Linked DNA regions of Homo sapiens: region 1 is linked to region 2. The links are contacts of gene promoters, found by promoter capture Hi-C in human tissues and cell types (Jung and others, 2019). All regions are on one chromosome and are shown on one strand. The core of a region is centred on a gene start or on the middle of the fragment in contact, and the rest is flanking DNA. Distances in the headings are between cores, read along the strand shown.

Region 1 (6,105 bases), core at 2,588-5,087, 310 kb after region 2:
CTTGGATGACACTGATGAGGCTCTCTGTGCCTGAGTCTTCCTAGTCTGCTCTGTGCGTTGTGGTTATGCCAACACAAGGGTAGTTTCTGCTCTCTTAACACCATCTTTCTCCACTATATACCAGAATCTGGGCTGGATTCTCCTCTTTTTAGAAATTTTTCAGAGCCTCTGGGGTGAGTCATGTGCTTTTAACTCTTGGCTGCTATTCTCTTAAGTGGGTTCTCTGCTTCTCCCTAAGGAATGCAGGGTAGCAACTACTACCCTTTGGGTCCAAATATGGTGGATCTCATTATGAGCCTCAAAGTTCTCCTCAAAGGACCCAGAGGAAGATGGGTTTAAGAGTTCTTGTGAAAATGGTCTGGGCAAGTGTCCAAATTAGATCCAACCTGTAACCTTAAATAAACAGTAGAAAGAGGAGACTAGTTGCACCCAGTGTGTGGAAAGCCTTAGGCTTGATGTTGAATCTCTACAGGCTGAGTGTTGTTCTCAGAGATGCTGGCATCGTGCCAGTGGGCAAATGAAGTCAATACGTCTTATTTCTGGTGATGCTAACTTTGATTACTCCCTTAAGGTTGTGTCTGCCAGGCTTCTCCACTGTAAAATTGATATTTTCCTCCTTGTAATTAACAAATACTTGCACAAAGATACGTTGAAACTATCTAAACGTTCTGTTTCTTATACTCTTACCCATTAATTTTAGCATCCATGGATAGATTTTACCTGTGACAAGTATTACATTGGTGTTTATTTCTAATAATAAATGTCTAAAAAAATCTAAAATAACTTTCTTCAATTTTCTATTTGATCATTCTACAAGAAAGATTTTGTACTTTCTGTGTCCTCTCTTTTAAGCACTAGATGTGATGATTTGAGGTCTGGCTGATTGCCTTCTTTAACTGATTTGCGTCACTTCAGCAGCTGTGCTTATCACACAGGTTCTACCCCAAAAGAGTGAGTTTGTGTTCTTGTGCCATTGACTTTTATCTCCCTTCAGCTTTCAGAGGACTCCAAATAATAATTGAGGCCGGCTGGCCTGCCTGCCTGCCTGCCTTCTTTCCTTCCTTCCTTCCTTCCTTCCTTCCTTCCTCTTTTCCTCCCTCTCTCTCTCCCTCACTCCCTCCCCTCCCTCACTCCCTCCCTCCCCTCCCCCCTCTCTCCCCTCCCTCCCTTCCTTTCCTTCCTTTTGACAAGGTCTCACTCTGTCTCTCAGGCTGGAGTGCAGTGCAGTGGTATGATCACAGCTCACTTCAGCCTTGACCTCCTGGGCTCAAGTGATCCTCCTGCTTTAGCCTCCCAAAGTGCTGGGATTAAAGGCTCAATTGGGTTTCGAATGAGAAATTGTCACATTTTTAGCCCAGTAGCCCACTGTCTAGCTGTGTGTCAATATGAACAGGAGCAGTCTCAGGGGTCTTGAGTTCAGTTAGAAACCTGAACACACATGAAGGGTGCTTTAGGATCCTGGAGGGTGGTCAGCAAGTCGTGGAGAAGTACAAAATGCTGCAGGCTGCAAAACTGGCTTGGAAGTGCCAGGGCACTTGAATTTCCCTCTGAGTTTTTCAGGATCTATTCCTTAGCCAAGATGGGAGTACAGTAAATGCTGGCCTATCTATCCACAACTTGAGACTTCTATGTGGATGTTTCCTTAGGCTTGAGATGAATGAAGAGAACCAACCAATCTCTAGCCTGGAGATAGTTCTTGTATTAGGGTTTTCTAGAGACACACAGACCAGTAAGATATATTTATATATCTAGAAAGAGATTTAGTATAAGGAATTGGCTCACGCCATCAATGGAGGCTAAGTCCCAGGATCTGCTGCCTGCAAGCTGGAGGCCCAGGAAGGCCTGAGGGGGTAGTTCCAGTCTGAGTCCGAAGGCCTGGGAACCAGAAATGCTGACTGTGTAAGTCCCAGTCTGAGGGCAAGAGAAGACTGATGTCCCAGCTCAAGCAGTTCATCAGAGGGAGGGAATTCTCCCTTCCTTCCTTCACCTTTTTGTTCTATTTGGATCCTCAATAGATTGAATGATACCCACACACATTGGGGAGGGCCATTTGCTTTACTCAGTTTACTCAGTCTACCTATTCAGACATTCATCTCTTCTGGAAACACCCTCACAGACACACCTAGAAATAATGTTGAGCCAAATCTGGGCACCCATTTCCCAGTCAAATTGATACCAAGTTAACCATTGCGGTTCCCAAGTTTGTGTGCTGTTCCTGTTATATACTCTGGTAACTATATCAATTTCTAGAAGAGACATAGCTCAAACAGGCCCATTACTCAGATGGGCACCAGGGAAAGGCCTGCCTAAATCACAGGAAACTGAGATGAGCACCCAGGAAATGTGGCTAAGACACTGCTTTTCAATTTGAATGTGCTCAGGAATTTCCTAGCGATCCTAGTAAAGTGAATATTTTTATTCAGCAGGTCTGGGTTGGGACCTGAAATTTTGCATTTCTACAGAGTTTTCACATGACGCTCGTGCTTCTGGTCTGAGGACCACACTTTGAGTAGATAGAATTAAAGGACATGGAGAAGTCTGAATGTTAAAAAATATGTTATCCAAAAAGTATCTGAAGCACCACTATCCACCACTATCTTTCTTTCTAGAATTTTTGTACCCATAAGAACAGGGAGAATTCCATCACTTTTGGCAGGAAGAAAGGTTGGGGATCAGGCTCAATGCACATTGTGATTTCATTGCAGAATATAGTAAAATGGGGCAAGCCAGCAGAACAGGGCTTAGATGACTCAGTGGGTCTTTCCAGCTTGCCCCATATTCATCAAGAACCTGCTTGTGTAAAGGTATTAAACAAGTGTGGAGACTTCCTAGGAAAGCTTTGTACTTATCTACTTTTTTCTGCAACAAAATATGAATGAGTGTTCACACAGATGATACCCCCATGGTCATGTGCAAGGGTTAAACACAATTTCCCATACAGTGGCCATAAATGCACCCCTTTCTCTCCCACTTAAAAGGAAAGTCAATATACAAATGAATGAGATAAATAATGTTGAATATCCTCTTTAAATATTTGCAATTGTTGGTACCTTAAACCATTAGTAACACATTATAGCATACCTCAGAACTGATTGTGGCACATCAATGTGTCACTTCAAAATGGGTGAGAAGCACTGGCCTAGAACTTACCTGGTGTGCCTGGCAAAGCCACCTGTGCTGGACACAGATTCTGGAACATGAGCCTGGGCCTCATGGCTGCCTTTATCCACCTTCGGAATAGCCTATAATGGTAATGGTATAGGTTCTATGCTGTCCAGTATGGTAGCCACTGCCTATAATTGCAATGAGGGTCACATATCACATAATGCCATTTTTTTTTCCAGTTGTGTGAGTCACTTGAGATTATGGCAGTTGTTGATAGACCACAAAATCAACCATGCCCTTCTTCACCTCAGCCAGCCAGCTAAAGTGAAAAAGGGCATGGCTACTGAGCATTTGAAAGGTGACTAGTCCAAAGTGAGATGCACTGTCAGTATAAAATAACACGAATTTCCAAAACGTAGTATGGCTTCCAAGATGGCTGAATAGGAACAGCTCCAGTCTGCAGCTCCCAGGGAGATCGATGCGGAAGATGAGTGATTTCTGCATTTCCAGCTGAGGTACCTGGTTCATCTTGTTGGGACTGGTTGAACAGTAGGTGCAGCCCATGGAGGGCGAGCTGAAGCAGGATGGGGCATCACCTCACCCAGGAAGCACAAGGGGTTGGGGGAGGGATTTCCCTTTTCTAGCCAAGGGAAGCTGTGACAGACTGTACCTGGAGAAACAGTACACTGCTGACCAAATACTGTGCTTTTCCCACAGTCTTAGCAACCTGCAGACCAGGAGATACCCTCCTGTGCCTGACTTGGTGGGTCCCACGCCCACAGAGCCTTGCTCACTGCTAGCACAGCAGTCTGAGATCGACCTGCGATGCTGCTGCTTGATGCAGTGAGGGGCGTCCACCATTGCTGAGGCTTGAGTAGCTCACAGTGTAAACAAAGAGGCCAGGAAGTGCAAACTGGGTAGAGCCCACCACAGCTCAGCAAGGCCTACTGCCTCTATAGATGCCATCTCTGGGGGCAGGGCATAGTAGAACAAAAGACAGAAAACAACTTCTGCAGACTTAAACGTCCCTGTCTGACAGTTCTGAAGAGAGCAGTGGTTCTCTTAGCATGGTGTTCAAGCTCCAAGAACAGATAGACTGCCTCAAGTGGGTCCCTGACTACCGTATAACCTGACTGGGAAACACCTCCCAGTAGGAGCCGACAGACACCTCAAACAGGAGGGTACCCCTCTGGGATGAAGCTTCCAGAGGAAGGATCAGGCAGCAATATTTGCTGTTCTGCAGTCTCCACTGGTGATATCAAGGCAAACAGGGTCTTCCAGCAAACTCCAACAGACCTGCAGCTGAGGGGTCTCTTAGAAGGAAAACTAACAAACAGAAATGAATCGCATCAACATCAACAAAAAAGATGTGCACTCACAGACCCCATCTGAAGGTCACCAACATCAAAGACCAAAGATAGATAAAACCACAAAGATGGGGAGAAACTAGAGCAGAAAAACTGACAATTCCAAAAAACAGGGTCTTTTCCTCCAAAGGATCACAGCTCCTTGCCAGCAAGGGAACAAAACTGGACAGAGAATGAGTCTGATGAGTTGACAGAAGTAGGCTTCAGAAGGTCGGTAATAACAAACTTCTCTGAGCTAAAGGAGTGTGTTCTAACCCATCGCAAAGAAGATGAAAAACCTTGAAAAAAGGTTAGACGAATGGCTAACTAGAATAAACAGTGTAGAGAAGACCTTAAATGACCTGATGGAGCTGAAAACCACAGCATGAGAACTTTGTGACGCATGCACAAGCTTCAACAGCCAATTCAATCAAGTGGAAGATCAGTGATTGAAGATCAAATTAATGAAATAAAGCAAGAAGACAAGATTAAAGAAAAAAAGCATGAAAATAAACGAACAAAGCCTCCAAGAAATATGGGACTATGTGAAAAGACCAAATCTACGTTTGATTGCTGTACCGGAAAGTGACAGGGAGAATGGAACCAAGCTGGAAAACACTCTTAAGGATATTATCCAGGAGAACTTCCCTAACCTAGCAAGGCAAGCCAACATTAAATTCAGGAAATTACAGAGAACACAAAGATACTCCTTGAGAAGAGCAACCCCAAGACACATAATTGTCAGATTCACCAAGTTTGAATGAAGGAAAAAAGGACAGCCAGAGAGAAAGGTCAGGTTACCCACAAAGGGAAATCCATCACACTAACAGCGGATCTCTCGGCAGAAACCCTACAAGCCAGAAGAGACTGGGGGCCAATATTTAGCATTCTTAAAGAAAGGAATTTTCAACCCAGAATCTCATATCCAGCCAAACTAAGCTTCATAAATGAAGGAGAAATAAAATCCTTTACAGACAAGCAAATGCTGAGAGTTTTTGTCACCACCAGGACGGCCTTACAAGAGCTCCTTAAGGAAGCACTAAACATAGAAAGGAATAACCAGTACCAGCCACTGCAAAAACATGCCAAATGGTAAAGACCATCGTTGCTATGAAGAAACTGCATCAATTAATGGGCAAAATAACCAGCTAACATCATAATGATAGGATCAAATTCAAACATAACAATATTAACCTTAAATGTAAATGGGCTAAATGCCCCAGTTGAAAGACAAAGACTCGCAAATTGGATAAAGAGTCAAGACCTATCAGTGTGCTGTGTTCAGGAGACCAATCTCATGTGCAAAGATGTACATAATCTCAAAATAAAGGGATGGAGGAAGATCTGCCAAGCAAATGGAAAGTGAAAAAAAATTAAAAAAAAAAAGCAGGGGTTGCAATCCTAGTCTCTGATAAAACAGACTTTAAACCAACAAAGATCAAAAGAGACCAAGAAGGCCACTACATAATGATAAAGGGATCAATTCACCAAGAAGAGCTAAGTATTCTAAATATATATGTACCCAATACAGGAGCACCCGGATTCATAAAGCAAGTTCCTAGAGACCTACAAGGAGACTTAGACTCCCACACAATAATAATGGGAGCCTTTAACACTCCACTGTCACTAGTAGATCAATGAGAAAGAAGGTTAA
Region 2 (6,168 bases), core at 3,391-5,890:
AAGAGTTAAATGAGATAATACACTGAAAGCATGTCAGTCACTTGGAGCCTTGGCACAAGAAAGCATTCAGTAAGTGCAATCTATCATTAAAATAATAAATGAGAACAAAGTATTCCCACAGGGCCAATTCTCCTAAAAACGTGAAGTACTAATGTCTGCAAAACCCTTGTCAGCAAACCCTCCGAGACAGTAAAAATGTACATGGAACAGTTTACTACTTTTTGAGGCAGCTTCATCATATCTACTTTTGCCGATGATGAAGCTCTGAACAAAGGGCATTTGATGACAACTGAATGGAGTGCCTGTGCATATGCAAATCAATTCCTTTTGAGAAGGCTTCCATTGATAACACCAACATCCCCTACCTGGACCAATTGTAGAAGGTAATGCAGAACATCATCGTCCTCCAAGCTCTCCAGTTTCTGAACTGCAATGGCTCTTACATTTTCATCTGAGAAGTTGCAGTCCAGGAGCTGCATTGTTAACCCAACATCCAAAGCACTTTGATCCCAGACTTCCCTTCTGGCCAACAATTGGTATGTTTTGGCCACAATTTCTTGCTGTCCCCATTTCACTGAACTAAATAGCTTAGGATATGCTTTTGGGTGCTTAAGGCTTTCGTATCTAAAATGCCAGAGCAATTCTTTGTCCTCTGCTGTGAGAGGGTTAAGTGGATCAGTGGCTATGATCGCCTCCAATTGCTTGCGAAGCTGGTTGGGCATTTCTGCTCGAACCCGGTCCCCTTCCGGGTCAGGGGTGGGCTGATGCTTAGGCAGGGCTATCGGGTGGCAGTAATTGTCCAGAAGAATGGAGATGGACATTGAGTTCTCCTTGTCTGGGTTAGTTGCAGACGTGAGTTTGTCAGCATTGAAGCTTCCTTGGTCTTCTCCCTTCCCAGATATCTGCCACATGTGGAGGACGTATTCTCCACGGCGCAGGAGGAAACGGTGGTCTATCAGCAGCAGGTTCACATAATAGAGAAGCTGAACTTTGCCCTTGGACTCAGAACTGGGGGACTCTGCAGAGGCCTTGCTGGACAGTGCTGGAGCTTTACCGCAGTAGATCTGGAGGTTCAGTAGAGCCCCTTTGGGCAAGTCTTTGATTTTGATACTGAACTCAAGCCACACATTCCACAGCACCTCCTCTGTGAAGGGTTTGGGGCTGGTTCTCCTTTGGCAAAGGACTTGTTGCCCATGCTGGATGTTTGCCTCTACAAAAACTGTGAGGTCGGTGTTCCGAGGCAGGACGGGGATATCAATGCCTCTGATCTTGACCCTGAACTTGCGGTCGCAGTCCCACAGGGACACGGTGAACACACTCTCGTGGTCCTTGCCGTGGATGGTAAGCTGCTCATGGTAGCCGGTGACTCCCGTGCAGTCATCCACCAGTGGCCACTCTTCCTTCCTCACCTCGTCTAGGGCCGGGTCTGGAGGCGTGTCCAGTACCACGTGAATCTCTTCTCCGTTCTTGAGGCAGTGCCTCACCCACTGGAAGTTTTTGATGGGCGTTTCGCCCACCAGGTACTCATCCCGGCCACAGACGCGCAGCACAAAATCCTGTTCGCTTTGGCTTTCGGGAATATCCATCAGAGATTTCTTCTTGGCCATCTTGGTGAAGAAGCTCTGCAGGATGGCGCCGGGGGTGTCGTCGGGTGAGACCTTAATGGTCTGGCTGGTGGTGCTGCGGTGAATGACGATGAAGATGCAGTTGTTGGCAATCTTCTTCCACAGGTACTCCGGGAGGGGCTTGGACGTCACCCACGGGTGCATGGCGTAGAGCTTGGGGTCGCGGCTGGCCACCTCCGCCATGCGCGGGGTCACCAAGCCACGGCGCGTGAACTCCAGCTCATCGTCGTGCACGTTGCTGACGTCAGTGACGTCATAGCCAATCAGCGCCGTGAGCTGCCGCTGGAAGGCTTGGGACTCCTCGGAGGGCGGGTGCCGCTGCACCAGGTGGATCTGGCCCGGGCTCCGGTGCGTGGCCTTCCAGTAGCGCAGGCAGTCCAGAGTCTGCACCACCTGGTACTTGTCGTAGATCTCGTACCACTGCCCCTTCTTCTGATAGAGCAGGAGGAAGTGATGCGGTCCCAGCCGGTGGTAGAAGTCCGCCGCCACGCTGGTCTCCAGCGCTCGCAGCCACACCTGGGCCTTCATCTGCTCCACGTTGCCGTGGCCGGCCACGTGCAGCAGCGCCGTTTCGGGGCTCTTGCATTTGCGCTGGCTGGTGGGCAGCACGAACTCGATGGGGATGAGCTCCATGGAGGACAGGCTGGCCGCAGCACTGCGCGGCTTCATCCTCCGGCGCCTTCGGCAGTTGTCCTCTCTCAGCACCACGGGCTGTTTATAGTTCTCCAGCTCCATGCCCTATGCGACCTGGGAGCGGAGGGACACAGGGATTTGTCACAAGAAAGGCACTTTCCCCTTATATTTTCTGGTGAGATGAGGGAAGAGGAGGTATAGGCGGCGTACATGTGCACAGGGACCCAGAGGGACCAAGTATTTTAAACTGGAAGCACTACAGCCCTTCAGAGCGTGGGCTTTGGAGTCGGGCCGGTGAGTCCTGGCCCAGCCACTTACTTTCTGGGTGATTTGGGCTGCTTAATCTCTGAGCCTGTTTCTCATCTCTCAAACTGGTTAGTAATGAATGCCCCAGAGGGAGAGTTAAATAAAGTAATACTTGTTCAATATGGGTGACAGGTATATGGGGGCTTATTGGTCGTTCTACTTTTGTATACTTTGAAAATTTTAAAGAGGTAGGTAAAACACTCATCCAGCACAGCGCATGACACATTATAATGGCTCAGAATGGACATTGTTCTTAAACATACTGAAACATATAGATTACTAAAATAGTACAGTTAAGGTTCAAGTCCCAGTTTACAAGGTGCAACACGAGATGCCAAAAAATCTCACTTTGAAAACAGGCCTTTAACTTACTTCCTCTTTGTTAAGTCTCACACTTCTTGGAACCCAGACACCTCACCCAGCCTTGCTTCACGTTGCCTGTTTTCAAACTGCCTGGACCTAGGATCTACTCCCTAATAAATTTCCTGCCTCTTGGTTTCATTTTTTCTTTCTAATTAGGAAAGCAAGTCATTTCATTTGTAAAGCTAAAACATATCGGAATTAGTAAAGTTACAGTCAAAACCATTTGCAGATATGTAAAATTTTGAATCATGGAATTTGTCAGCATTCTGGCTGTCACTGCTATATTAGGGCAGTATCTTAGAAGAGTCACCCAAGGCTGTACTCTCCCAATAGGAACATTTAGGTAATTTTAACATTGTTTAATTAATTAATTAAAATTCATTTGATCTGTCTCTACTTAATAATGGAGGAGCTACAGGATGGAAGGCAGGATTTCTGGACTCCAGTGACCTTCTGTTAAGACCCCCAATCATTTAACTTCTTTTTTGCTCTAATATTTTCATTTTTGTAACACAAATTCACAAATTTATTCTCATTAACCTACTCACTCTTTCCACAAAATTCAGTAAGTACCTACCCTTCACAAAGCACTTATGTATAAATAGGACATACTGCAATAGGAAATCCTTCAAATAATAATTGAAATTTGAAAGGTATTAACACTGAAAGATTAGGTATTTTGCTTTCAATGTTTAGTATCACTACATTGTAATACATTATATTCTAAACGAATCAATTATTGAAACAAAAAATTAATGTTTCAGAAAATATCGTTTACTCTCTTAAATAACTAATGTTAGACTTAAAACTACATTATTTCCTTAAGAAATAGTGGAGCATTTGATGTATACCAAAAAGGAGAGCTTGATAAGAAGATAAGAAAGACAAATTTCATTTGATCCAAACTTATGTTCAAATCTTGGCTTAACTTTTAAAACCAATATTCCCTCTCTTAAAATATGAAGTTATACTTAGTAAGTGAAACCAACTGTCCCAAAGAACTGTCTCTTGTGGCTTAAAACATTCATTTTGGTCTTTTGCTACATTATAGAATAACTAACAAAGAAGAGAACTGTAAGATACATTGATATTGACACTAACTTGAAATAAAACATGTCCAAATTTAGGCAGCATATAAATACACAGCAATAACTTCTGCCTCAGTGATACCAAACGATCTTATAAGATGCAGAGGAAAACAGGCTGACTAATACTCACTGGTTTCCTTCATGGTTGAGGCTATGAAGCTTTCCCCTTTTATGAGAAGATGTTGGAAACACTGTAAGTACAGTAATCTTGAAGCATGCACTTGTAGGAATATGAAGCCTGGCTGCCGTGCCCTCCCTTTTCCTCCCAAAACAAAAACAAAAATGTGATGCACCTGCAAAACTATTGCCGGAACGTTGTAGATATCCACAATACAGGTTGGACTAGACAATGAAACACAGACATTCGGTGGTAGTATCATCTCAAGAACCGACAACAGTTTCAGATAATCTAGCCGAGAAGGAAGTGCCACTATTCCGAGTCAGACCCCACAAAGAGCAAAAAATAGAAGGAAGCAATACCTGATAAAGCAGCGGAGGCGATGATGCTGAAGGATCATTTGTTTAATTTTTGAAAACAAAACAAATTCAAACCTACCCAGTGTGCGTCTAAATTCTTCCGCTTTTCTGGGGCTCCCTTCATATCCAGATGCAGAGGAAGTGTTGCAGTTACCAGGAAGGAAGTTTTAACCAAGTTGATTATACGTGTGATTGCTCATTTTAAAAGTGTCAGAAATGCATTTCCTGTTTTAGCATAGAGAGGGTAGGAGTATGAGACTGAGCAATGTTTACCATGGTTTTTCTTTTCTTTTTTTTTTCTCTTTGAACTAATTTTTCAAAAATTGTGATACTGAGACAAAATGACATAAATCCAAACCAAAATTACCCATTATGAGACATAAACATATGAAATATCTTTGTAGCTAGTTCTAAGAGCCACAGTATTAGGTATCCTATTAGGAAGACTTTTACCAGTCAAATTAAACTCATTCCCCTCCTGGGAATTCAAAAGAATCCTTGTTCGCACATGCTAACTGAGGGGTGGGGGAAGAGAAACCTAGTCATCTTGAGGACTAAGTTATCAAGCTGAAAATTTTTAAAGGCATGGTCTGCAAGCTCACTTCCTTAGCTTGGTGAGAGCTTTCTCTATTTTTTCAGAGCATTTGGGGCCTAAAATATCACTGGCTCAAACTGAAAGCACTGCAGCATGTGCATGTGTGTATATAAATGTGACATACTGCAGTAAGTAACCCTTCAAATAATGGTTGAAATGCTAAAAGTATTAAAATTGAAAGATGAATAAAAAGGTATTTTGATTTTAATACTAAGTACCACTACATTGTAACACATTATATTCCAAACAAGGATCAACTATTGAAACAAAAATTAATGCTTCAGAAAATATCCTGTGTTGAGGATGGAGCCTTACTGTCAGCAATGACTGATTAATTAACTGTAGACAAAACAGAAGGAGGTTGCCTGTTATCATGGGGAAATTGGGGAGCTGAACACTGTTACAGCATCAGGCAGATTCCATCCTGGGAGGTGGCCCCTGATTCCTATGGGAGTAGAGAATGCATAGAAAAGCCATCCTGAATCATTTTTAGAGTAGCGTTGTATCTTCCAGGTGACCTCAGTTCTTTCTAGAACCTCCAAGCATCCTGAACCAGCGCCCCCTCCCTCCATCTCAGAATTCCCTATGCTAGAGTTCATCCTCCAATCGGGGTGTTGAGGGACTCCAGCTGAGCTTCAAGGGCAGCAGATAGAATGGAGTTGACCTCACAAGTCTCTTGGAGGTATGTAATTAAGAGTTCCTCTGAATTACTCTGATATTGAGATAAATGATTGATTTGACTTATTTCCTTTTACATATGCCTCTTGGGTTTTAACTTTTAAATAGCACTCTAATAGTTGACATCAGCAGGCAAATAATTTAATTCAAAGGCTGCCTCCCAAATATTTAGAGGGGTCTTATCAGCTTCTCAAAGTATATTCCTATATAGGAATACTCCCTTAGGAGGCTGGCAGCTTTAGAAGCACCAAGGCTAGCTTTCTTGGTTGGTCCTGAGGGAAGATCAACACACTGTAGCCACCAAGCCATGATGTGAGAGCTTGCCAAGCTGTGTTTTACCCAGAGTGTGTGGGAGGGTTCCTGGGGGTGGGTGGAGTGGGAGGAGGTTTGAGGGTGGGAGGGC

What was found. Contacts are between HindIII fragments. The study calls those that stand out against the background at their distance.
Region 1: a contact is called between a fragment that was not itself captured here and the fragment with the promoter of PIK3CG in region 2, in 1 of the 25 tissues and cell types used here (bladder).

Annotation. Positions count from the first base shown.
Region 1 is chr7:106,558,004-106,564,108 of GRCh38, reverse strand. No RefSeq gene overlaps it. Among named protein-coding and RNA genes, the nearest start is that of CTB-30L5.1, 38 kb to the left of the region's middle. The HindIII fragment of the contact is 4,989 bases long and covers 1,343-6,105 here.
Region 2 is chr7:106,863,754-106,869,921 of GRCh38, reverse strand. It overlaps PIK3CG (phosphatidylinositol-4,5-bisphosphate 3-kinase catalytic subunit gamma), which reads right to left and starts at 4,640. Exons shown (of 11, transcript NM_001282426.2): 1 at 4,496-4,640; 2 at 366-2,372. The coding sequence starts at 2,360. RefSeq lists an enhancer at 4,469-4,568. The HindIII fragment of the contact is 7,545 bases long and covers 2,525-6,168 here.